Linked DNA regions of Homo sapiens: region 2 is linked to region 1. The links are contacts of gene promoters, found by promoter capture Hi-C in blood cells and fetal thymus (Javierre and others, 2016). All regions are on one chromosome and are shown on one strand. The core of a region is centred on a gene start or on the middle of the fragment in contact, and the rest is flanking DNA. Distances in the headings are between cores, read along the strand shown. Region 1 holds the start of GMEB1 (glucocorticoid modulatory element binding protein 1). Region 2 overlaps EPB41 (erythrocyte membrane protein band 4.1).

The links. Contacts are between HindIII fragments. The CHiCAGO score rates a contact against its expected background, and 5 or more counts as called.
Region 2: a contact is called between a fragment that was not itself captured here and the fragment with the promoter of GMEB1 in region 1, in 3 of 17 cell types (M2 macrophages, naive B cells and monocytes). The highest score is 7.3, in M2 macrophages.

The regions. Positions count from the first base shown.
Region 1 is chr1:28,665,849-28,670,820 of GRCh38, reverse strand. It overlaps GMEB1 (glucocorticoid modulatory element binding protein 1), which reads right to left and starts at 2,037. Exons shown (of 10, transcript NM_001319674.2): 1 at 1,982-2,037. RefSeq lists enhancers at 796-855, 906-955 and silencers at 1,486-1,775, 1,786-1,895, 1,926-2,065. The HindIII fragment of the contact is 26,935 bases long and covers 1-4,972 here.
Region 2 is chr1:29,022,493-29,027,464 of GRCh38, reverse strand. All of the region lies in intron 7 of EPB41 (erythrocyte membrane protein band 4.1), which reads right to left. Among named protein-coding and RNA genes, the nearest start is that of TMEM200B, 99 kb to the left of the region's middle. The HindIII fragment of the contact is 1,236 bases long and covers 2,316-3,551 here.

The DNA.
Region 1 (4,972 bases), core at 788-3,287:
TAAGGCTCTCAAATTAGGAGACGGTGCAACCATTGAATAAGTTTCCCCCGCCGGGCGCAGTGGCTCACGCCTGTAATACCAGCACTTTAGGAGGCCAACGCGGGCGAATCACAAGGTCAGGAGATCGAAACCATCCTGGCTAACATGGTGAAACCCCGTCTCTACTAAAAACACAAAAAAATTAGCCTGGTTGGGCCAGGCGCAGTGATTCACGCCTGTAATCCCAGTACTCTGGGAGGCTGAGGATGTGGGATCACCTGAGGTTGGGAGTTCGAGACCAGCCTGGCCAACATGGTGAAACCCCGTCTCTATTAAAAATACAAAAATTAGCTGGGTGTGGTGGCGGGCGCCTGTAGCCCCAGCTACTCGGGAGGGTGAGGCAGGAGAATCGCTTGAACCCAAGAGGCGGAGGTTGCAGTGAGCTGAGATCGCGCCATTGCACTCCAGTCTGGGCAACAGGAGTGAAACTCCGTCTCAAACAACAACAACAACAACAACAAAATTGGCTGGTGTGGTGGCACGCGCCTGTAGTCCCAGCTACTCGGGAGGCTGAGGCAGGAGAATCGTTTGAACCCAGGAGGCGGAAGTTGCAGTGAGCCACCACTCCAGCCTGGGCGATAGAGTGAGACTCCGTCTCAAAAAACAAATAAATAAATAAATAAATAAAAAGGGTCCCCAAATGCACTTTGGTAACTATTAGAAGAGGCAAGGAGGAAGAAGATAATCCCTCAAGACTAGAATTATGTCTGACAGTCTCTTTTCCTAAAACCCGTCTTGATTGGCCTAAACAGACACCAATCAAGGCCCCATCTGTGTCTACTAGGAAGTGGTTTTGAGATTTCTCTCATCTTGAGAGAATCCAGGGCTGCGCCTGCTCTGCTGTCTAGGTCAAGACTTCACCCTCTTGTCTTGTGGATCATCCTCCAAAGACCCTCGGGTTGAGATTTTGCCTTCATCTCTCCTGCCCCTCAATTAGATAACACCTGGCCAATTCCTGTCATTTCAGAAAGCGGGAACACCTTAAGCATCTTTCCTCAACGATCTCTGCTTCTCTCAAAAAGATAGGTTTCTCCATCCCCTGACCGAGCGGGTTACTTTGTTCTCCACCTAGACATCAAGAGGCACCTAGACACCTTCCATCCCCTCAGGTTTGGACGCTGCTCTTTCGTACTTCAGGAGGCTCTAGGAGTCTTCCTACCACGCGCTCATCTGTGGGGAGACCTGGGCCTGCTCACTTCCCCTTAGAGCTCCTCTTCCTTCCCTGCCTTTGGAAAAAACCTGCCCTTTTTTCCCTTGTTCTGAGTGGCCGAGGCCTCTACCGCGCCCCTCGGGATAAGCTGGACTCTGCTCTCCTCAGAAGAACCCACTCTGTACTCTTGCTCTCCCGCCAAGGCTCCGAGAGGGTCTCCTCCCAGGCGGGCATCCGGGCTTCCAGCACCTATCGTCCCCCTCCCACTGGGCAGGACCCAGGCCTCCAACCAGCTCCTCATCCAAGGGCCCGGTGCTCCCCGGACCCCGCCTTTGGGGATACCCCAGGCTCCCCGGACCCCTCGATGGGGTCCTGGGCGCCTGGCCCTCTCAGTCCGGAGTCACTCCGGCCCCTCCTGGCCCCTGAGCCGAGTACTTCCGGGCCCCTCGGTCCGGGGGCGCCGGGGCCCCCCCAGTGGTGGACTCGCCGGTTCCCGCCGCCCTGGTCTGGGGCCCGAGCCCCGGCGGCGCGGCCGGCTGCGCTGGGGGCGGCCCGGCGGCTCGGGCGGACCCAGCGGCAGCGTCCCCCCACCCCCCCGCGGCGCCGCGACGTCCGCTCGCTCCCCGGCGGCGGCGGCGGCACGCACAGGGCGTGGGGAGGCGCCCGCGGAGGCAGCAGCCCCCCGCCCCCTGCGCGCCCGCCCGCCCTCGCCGGCCGCCGCGCGGCCCCCGCGCCCGCCCCCCCGCCCCCACCCCACCCCGCGCCCGCGCGCCCACCCCTCCCCCTCCTCACCGTCTCCGTCGGGCGGGCGGGCGGCGAGCGGCCAGGGCGGGCAGGCGACGGAGCATGCGCAGAGGCCGCCACGGCAGCTACCGCCACCGCCGCCGCCAGGCCGGGCTTCAACACTTCCGGCCGCCGCCGCCGGAGAGCTGGCGCCTTAAAGGGGACGCGTCCCTATTGCCGGTCCCACCGAGGATTAACCTTAGCCAAGGGATTTGGGCCTTACCTAAGCAGAATTCTTTCGCCCTTGAAAATCAGTGTTGGAAAGGTCGCTAGAGACCCCAGTAACTCTCCTTCCCGCACTCATAGATGAGGAAAATAGGCCCTAAATGAAAGAATCACCTCAACCACAATTGAGGGCCAAGCTAGCTTTCTCGACTCCTCTGGAGGACTCTACTCCATTTACCTCCCCAAATCCTGTTTTATGAAGTTTACATCTTATCGGACCCTTCAAGTTACAATCCAGCTATCAGTTTGCAATCAGAAGATCTGCATAGATCAGTAACTGGTCACGAGTCCTTGAGCAAGCCCTAAGCATTGTCTGACCCGTGCCTGTTTGCCAAGTTTTTCCTGCTTGTGAGTTTCTGGGTTGAAGTCTTGACTCCCCTGCTGGAAGTGTAAACGACTCTGGAGGAATTTCTTGACAGCTCTAAACCTGTTTCCGATAAGACATAATGTGAGTGCTAAAGAAGGTGATACCTGCATGAAAAGTGCTTCAGAGAGTTCCTGGGGTCAGTAATAGTAATTAACAAGTATTAAGACCTTTATTTTTTATTTATTTATTTATTTTTTTAGACAGAGTCTTGCTCTTTGGCCAGGCTGGAGTGCAGTGGCGCGATCTCGGCTCACTGCAGCTTCAGCCTCCTGGGTTCAAGTGATTCTCCGGCCTCAGCCTCCCGAAGAGCTGGCACTAGAGGCGCGCGACACCACGCCCGGCAATTTTTTTTTTTTTTTGTATTTTAGTAAAGACAGGATTTCACCATGTTGGCCAGGATGGTCTCAATATCTGACCTCATGATCCACCCGCCTGGGCCTCCCAAAGAGCTGGGATTACAGGCGTGAGCCACCGCGCCCGGCCGTATTAAGACCTTTCTATGGCCAGGTGTGGTGGCTTACGCCTGTAATCCCACACTTTGGGAAGCCGAGGCGGACAGATCACTTGAGACCAGGAGTTCGAGACCAGCCTGGGCAACATGGTGAAACCCCGTCTCTACTAAAAATACAGAAATTAGCCGGGCGTCGTGGCACGCGCCTCTAGTCCCAGCTACTCAGAAGGCTGAGCCAGGAGAATCACTTGAACCCGGGAGGCGGAGGTTGCAGTGAGCCGAGATCAGGCCATTGCACTCCAGCCTGGGCAACAGAGTGAGACTCTATCTCAAAAAACAAACAAACAAAAAGACCTTTCTATGGCCTATGGCTTGGTGAAGATGCTTCTGTCTTGTATAATCCTCACAGCAACCCTACTAAGTAAGTTTCTCTTTTTTTTTTTTTTTGAGACGGAGTCTTGCTCTGTCGCCCAGGCCGGAGTGCAGTGGCGCAATCTCGGCTCACTGCAAGCTCCGCCTCCTGGGTTCACACCATTCTCCTGCCTCAGTCTCCTCAGTAGCTAGGACTACAGGCGTCCGCCACTACGCCTGGCTAATTTTTTTGTATTTTTTAGTAGAGACAGGGTTTCACCGTCTTAGCTAGGATGGTCTCGATCTCCTGACCTTGTGATCCGTCCGCCTCAGCCTCCCAAAGTGTTGAATTACAGGCGTGAGCCACCGCGCCCGGCCCTTCTTTTCTTTTCTTTCTTTTTTTCTTTTTTTTGGTGGGGGGGACCGGTCTGGGTTGATCTCCCAGGCTGAGTGCAGTGGCGGGATCTCGGCTCACTGCAGCCCCAGCCTCCAGTGCTCAAGCAGTCCTCCTGCCTCAGCCCCCGGAGTAGCTGGGACCACAAGCAGGAACCACCATGCCTGGCTAATTTTTACATTTTTAGTAGAAATGGGGTTTTACCATGTTGCCCACTCTGGTCTCTAACTCCTGGGCTCAAGCAATCCTCCTGCCTTGGCCTCCCAAAGTGCTGGGATTACAGGTGTGAGCCACCATAATTGTTTGTTTATTGATTGATTGATTTGGAGACGGAGTCTCGGTCTGTGCAGTGGTGCGATCTTGGCTGCCTCCCAGGTTAAAGCGATTCTCCTGCCTCAGCCTCCCGAGTAGCTGGGACTACAAGCACGAGCCACCACGCCTGGTTAATTTTTTGTATTTTTAGTAGAGACGGGGTTTCACCGTGTTGGCCAGGATGATCTCGATCTCTTGACCTCATGATCTGCTGCCTTGGCCTCCCAAAGTGCTGGGATTACAGGCATGAGCCATCGCGCCCAGCCAATTTTTGTATTTCTGGTAGAGACAGGGTTTCACCATGTTGGCCAGGATGGTCTCAATCTCTTGACCTCGTGATCCTCCTGCCTCAGTCTCCCAAAGTGCTGGCATTACAGGCGTGAGCCACCGTGCCTGGCCATTTATTTTTATTTAGTTATTTTGGAGGATAGAGTCTCCTCCTGGGCACAAGTGATCCTCCAATCTTGACTTCCCGAGTAGCTGAGACTATAGGCTTGCACAACCACGCCCAGCTCCTTTTTGTATTTTTCATAGAGCTGGGGTTTCACCATGTTACCAAGGCTGGTCTCAAATTCCTGAGCTCAAGTGATCCACCCACCTCGGCCTCCCAAAGTGCTGGAATTATAGTCGTGGGCCACCGTGCCTGGATGATAACTGATTTTTTTTTTTTTTTTTTTGAGATGGGGTCTCGCTCTGTCGCCAGGCTGGAGTGCAGTGGCCCTACAATCTCAGCTCACTGCAGCCTCTACCTTCTGAGTTCAAGGGATTCTCCTGCCTCAGCCTCCTGAGTAGCAGGGATTACAGGCATGTGCTGCCACACCTGACTAATTTTTGTATTTTTGGTAGAGACGGGGTTTCACTATGTTGGCCAGGCTGGCCCCAAACTCATGACCTTAGGTG
Region 2 (4,972 bases), core at 1,684-4,183, 360 kb before region 1:
AGCTACTTGGGAGGCTGAGGCAGGAGAATCGCTTGAACCTGGGAGGCAGAGGTTTCGGTGAGCCGAGATTGCGCCATTGCACTCCAGCCTGGGCAACGAATGAAACTCCATCTCAAAAAAAAAAAAAATGTTGAGAGACCTTGTCTCTAAAAAAAGAAAAAGAATAATTTTAGCTGGGTGCAGTGACCTGTAGTCACAGCTACTTGGGAGGCTGAGGCAGGTAGATTGCTTGAGTTTAAGGCTGTAAGTGAGTTACAATCACACCTGTAAATAGCACTGCACTTCAGGTTGTTCAGGTTGCACAACATAACAAGGTCCCTTTACAATTCTTAAAAAAATGTAATTCTAACTTAAGAATTTTTTTTTTTTTTTTGAGATGGAGTCCCACTCCGTTGCCCAGGCTGGAGTGCAGTGGTATGATCTCGGCTAACTGCAACCTCTGCCTCCTGGGTTCAAGTGATTTTTCTGCCTCAGCCTCCCAAGTAGCTGGAACTACAGGCACCCGCCACCATGCCTGGCTAATTTTTGTATTTTTAGTAGAGATGGGGTTTCACCATATTGGCCAGGCTGATCTCAAACTCCTCACCTCGTGATCTGCCCAACTCAGCCTCCCAAAGTGCTGGGATTAAAGGTGTGAGCCAAAAAAAATTTTTTTTAAGAGACAAGGTCTTGCTCTGTCACCCAGACTGGAGTGCAGTGGCACCATCATGGTTCACTGCAGCCTTGACCTCCCAGGTTCAAGTGAACTCTTGGGCTCAAGCAGTCAGCCCACCTCAGCCTCTGAAAGTGCTGGAATTACAGGCATGAGCCACCATGCCCAGCCTTAAAATTTCAATTTATTTATTTATGTCAGTATGGACTCACGAATTTTCATTTTATTCAATGCAGTATATCAATTATTTTCCTTATCTATTTTGATGCTTAAATTGCCCCAGATTTGGTAGTGGGAACCTCTCCAAGCTGGATTCTGTGTCCTTCTGACCATTTCCCATCATTCTTCCAGTACTTCCTTCTGACACAATGTAGAGTTAGAGTATGTATCTGTGTATGTATCTACCTTTTTACATCTATATTTCTATATCTACCTATCTATATATTGGAAACCACAAGTTCACATTGAAGCCTCCAGTTTTAACGCAATATCCTAACAGGGTTCATTTTAGTTTCTCCCTTTCCATAATTTGTGTCTCACTTTACTGACAGTGAGAAACCTGGCTCCCATTACCCTGAATACATTGACTAATTTGATCAATCCCTCTGTATAATCATATAATCTCTCATTGCAGCCACAAACCCCTACTGTATGTGGATGTCCTCCTCACTCTACTTGAACCCTGAATTCCCCATTCTGGGCTACTCAGCACACGTGGATGTCCTCCTTACCTCACCAGGGTTCTGACTGCTGGTGTGGGACCATCTCTTCACCCTGCTTAGGCTTTGACACTGTGCATCAAGCACCACCCTGTATGGATGCCCTCCACATCCTGTGTAGGCTTTTCCCCCACATGGATGCCCTTCTTGCTCTGCTTGGCTTCTGAAACCCACCACCAGGTGCCCACACATGACTACCATCCTCATCCACTTGAGCTCTGACTCTTCATGCCAGGCTGCCCTCCAACCCACGGACCCACTCCTCACTCTGCTTAGGCCTCAATATCCCAAGCCAGACTGCCCCTCTGCATGGATGACTACCTTGCTCTGCCCCACCTAATGTTGCCAGAAAGCTTTATCTGATTATAAAAATCATACACATTCACTGTATAAAATTTGGAAAATATCATTAAAAGCATAGAAAATATATAATCTCACCACCCACAGACATCTGTGCATGTTAACACAACACATATATTTGAAAGATTAATATCACAAAATAAATTATTTTTTGCCTTAAATTTTAATGATCAAGGTTTTCCCTAAAATTTCCAAGACCTTTGAGCGTCATAACAAACCAGCTGGGAAGAGATTAGATACCTCTAAACCATTAAAAGTACTGTCTTGAATTTTTTCAGTACCACCTAATAATTTACTACTTGTAAGTACTGCAGCTTACAAAAGTACCTGACCAGGAAGCTCCGGCACTGGTTAAAGCTCATTAAAAAGAGAAGTTACAATAAAGTTTCCCTGCATTTATTTCAAGCAAGTGCAATCAGGATAGAGCTATTCGGTGTGTTCCAGTGTTATGTGACTCCCTTTTAATAATGTTTGTTATATCTCCTAATTAAGGATTGTGATTTCAAAGAATTAAGTGGGGGACAATAGACAAGTTTACATACCTTCCTAATACCAATAAATGGAGGGCAATTAATTTTAAAGCTTGATTTGCTAGTGTAAATTTAAAGTGTTAATTATAGCTTTAAAATCCCAGTCTGGGCAAAGGGCCACTACTAAGGATTCCATTTATGCAGGCTGTCTTCTATCTGAGAAGTGCTTGTACTGCACTTTCCAATGCATAGTAAAATGCATATGCCTCAGTGGAAGTTTCTTTGGATTAGTTAAAATGCCATGTTGTTGGACATAATTAAATTGTTCCTTTGGGTTTGTGAGGGTTGCAAATCTTTCCAAAAAGGAGCAAGTAAATTCCAAGATGACAGACTCCTAAATGTTCTGGTCACGGCGATCCATTATTGCTCAATTTCTACCACATCTCTAACAGAATATCAGCTGAACTATATCCATTTGTCCCTTGAGATTGTTTCACCTAATTGGGTTTACATTCTGATAAAGGTTAAAACTAGTTCTCCAAACCAAGACACATACATTCATCACTTGTGAAGTGAGGATAAGAATTTTTTTTTATTTATATTTATTTATATTTTTTATTTATTTATTTTTTGAGACGGAGTCTCGCTCTGTCGCCCAGCTGGGGTGCAGTGGTGCGATCTCGGCTCACTGCAACCTCCGCCCCTCCAGGTTTAAGCAATTCTCTGCCTCAGCCTCCGGAGTAGCTGGGATTACAGGCGCGTGCCACCAAGCCCGGCTAATTTTTTGTATTTTTAGTAGAGACAGGGTTTCACCATCTTGACCAGGCTGGTCTTGAACTCCTGACCTCGTGATCCACCTGCCTCAGCCTCCCAAAGTGCTGGGATTACAGGTGTGAGCCACCACGCTCGGCCTTTAATTTATTTATTTTTAGATGAAGTCTTACTTTGTCACCCAGGCTAGAGTGCAGTGGCATGATCTCGGCTCACTGCAACCTCCGCCTCCTGGGTTCAAGCAATTCTCCTGCCTCAGCCTCCAGAGTAGTTGGGACTACAGGTGCGCGCCACCATGCCCAGCTAATTTTTGTATTTTCAGTAGAGATGGGGTTTCACCATGTTGGCTAGGATGGTCTCAATCTCTTGACCTCGTGATCCACCTGCCTTGGCCTCCCAAAATGCTGGGATTACAGGTGTGAGCCACCGTGCCCAGCCAAGAATTATTATTATCATAGCAGATATTTGAACTCTCACTATATACTGTCATTGTACTAATCACTTTATATAAATTTTCTGATTTAACAATTAGAAAATTCACATTATTGCCCTTATTTTTCAGATGAAAAAACTGAAGCTTAGAGAGCTTAAGTAACTTACCAAGAGGCACACAGTTAACAAGGAATGGAGTCTGAATTTAAAGAAAGGCTAACTCCAGAGCCCAAGATTTTAACTATGGTGCCCTATTGCCCCAACTCAGTGGTTCTCAAACTTTTTTGATCTCAGGACCTCTTTATTCTCTTAACAATTATTGTAAAAATTATTGAGGACCCTAAAGAGCTTTTCTTTCTTTTTTCTTTTTTTTGAGACGGAGTTTTGCTTTTGTTGCCCAGGCTGGAGTACAATGGCATGATCTCGGTTCACTGCAACCTCTGCCTCCCGAGTTCAAGCGATTCTCCTGCCTCAGCCTCCTGAGGAGCTGGGATTACAGGCATGTGCTACCATGCCCGGCTGATTTTGTATTTTTAGTAGAGATGGGGTTTCTCCATGTTGGTCAGGCTGGTCTTGAACTCCCGACCTCAGGTGATCTGGCTGCCTTGGCCCCCCAAAGTGCTGGGATTACAGGCATGAGCCACTGTGCCCGGTCAAGAGCTTTTCTTTATGTGGCTTATAGCTATTTGTATTCACTATATTAAAATTGTTTTAACTAAGGAAAATTTAAAATGTTTATTAAATTTCTAAAAAGTAACAGTAATCCAGCCAAGCACGGTGGCTTACGTCTGTAATCCCAGCACCTTAGCAGGCCAAGGCAGGCAGATCACCTGAGGTCAGGAGTTCAGGACCAGCCTGGCCAACATGGTGAAACCCTGTCTCTGCTAAAAATACAAAAGTTAGCCAAGTGTGGTGGCAGGCACTTGTAATCCTAGCTACTCGGGAGGCTGAGGCACGAGAATCACTTGAACCAAGCAGGCGGAGATTGCAGTGAGCCGAGATCACACTATTGCACTCCAGCCTGGGCGACAAGAGTGAAACTCCATTTCAAAATAAAATAAAATAATGGTAATCCCATTACTTTTTAACATAAATAACATAATTTCTGAAAAATACCAATATTTTCTGAAACAGTGATGAAAAGGTAACTTTGCTTTACATATTTACAAATCTCTTCAATGTCTGGCATAGAAGACAGCTGAATTCTCCCAACTGCTTCTGCATTCAATCTGTTGCAATATATTGATTTGGCAGTATGTGAAGAAATCTGATCTCACACAGACATGTAGTTTGAAAAGGGGTGACTATGAATTTAAAACACTCTTTTTTCTTTTTTTTTGAGATGGAGTCTTGCTCTTGTCGCCCAGGCTGTAGTGCAATGGCACGATCTTGGCTCACTGCAACCACCGCCTCCCAGGTTAAAGTGATTCTCCTGCCTCAGCCTCCCAAGTAGCTGGGATTACAGGTGCCCACCACCATGCCTGGCTAATTTTTGTATTTTTAGTAGAGACAGGGTTTCACCATATTGGCCAGGCTGGTCTCAAACTCCTGACCTTGTGATCCGCCTG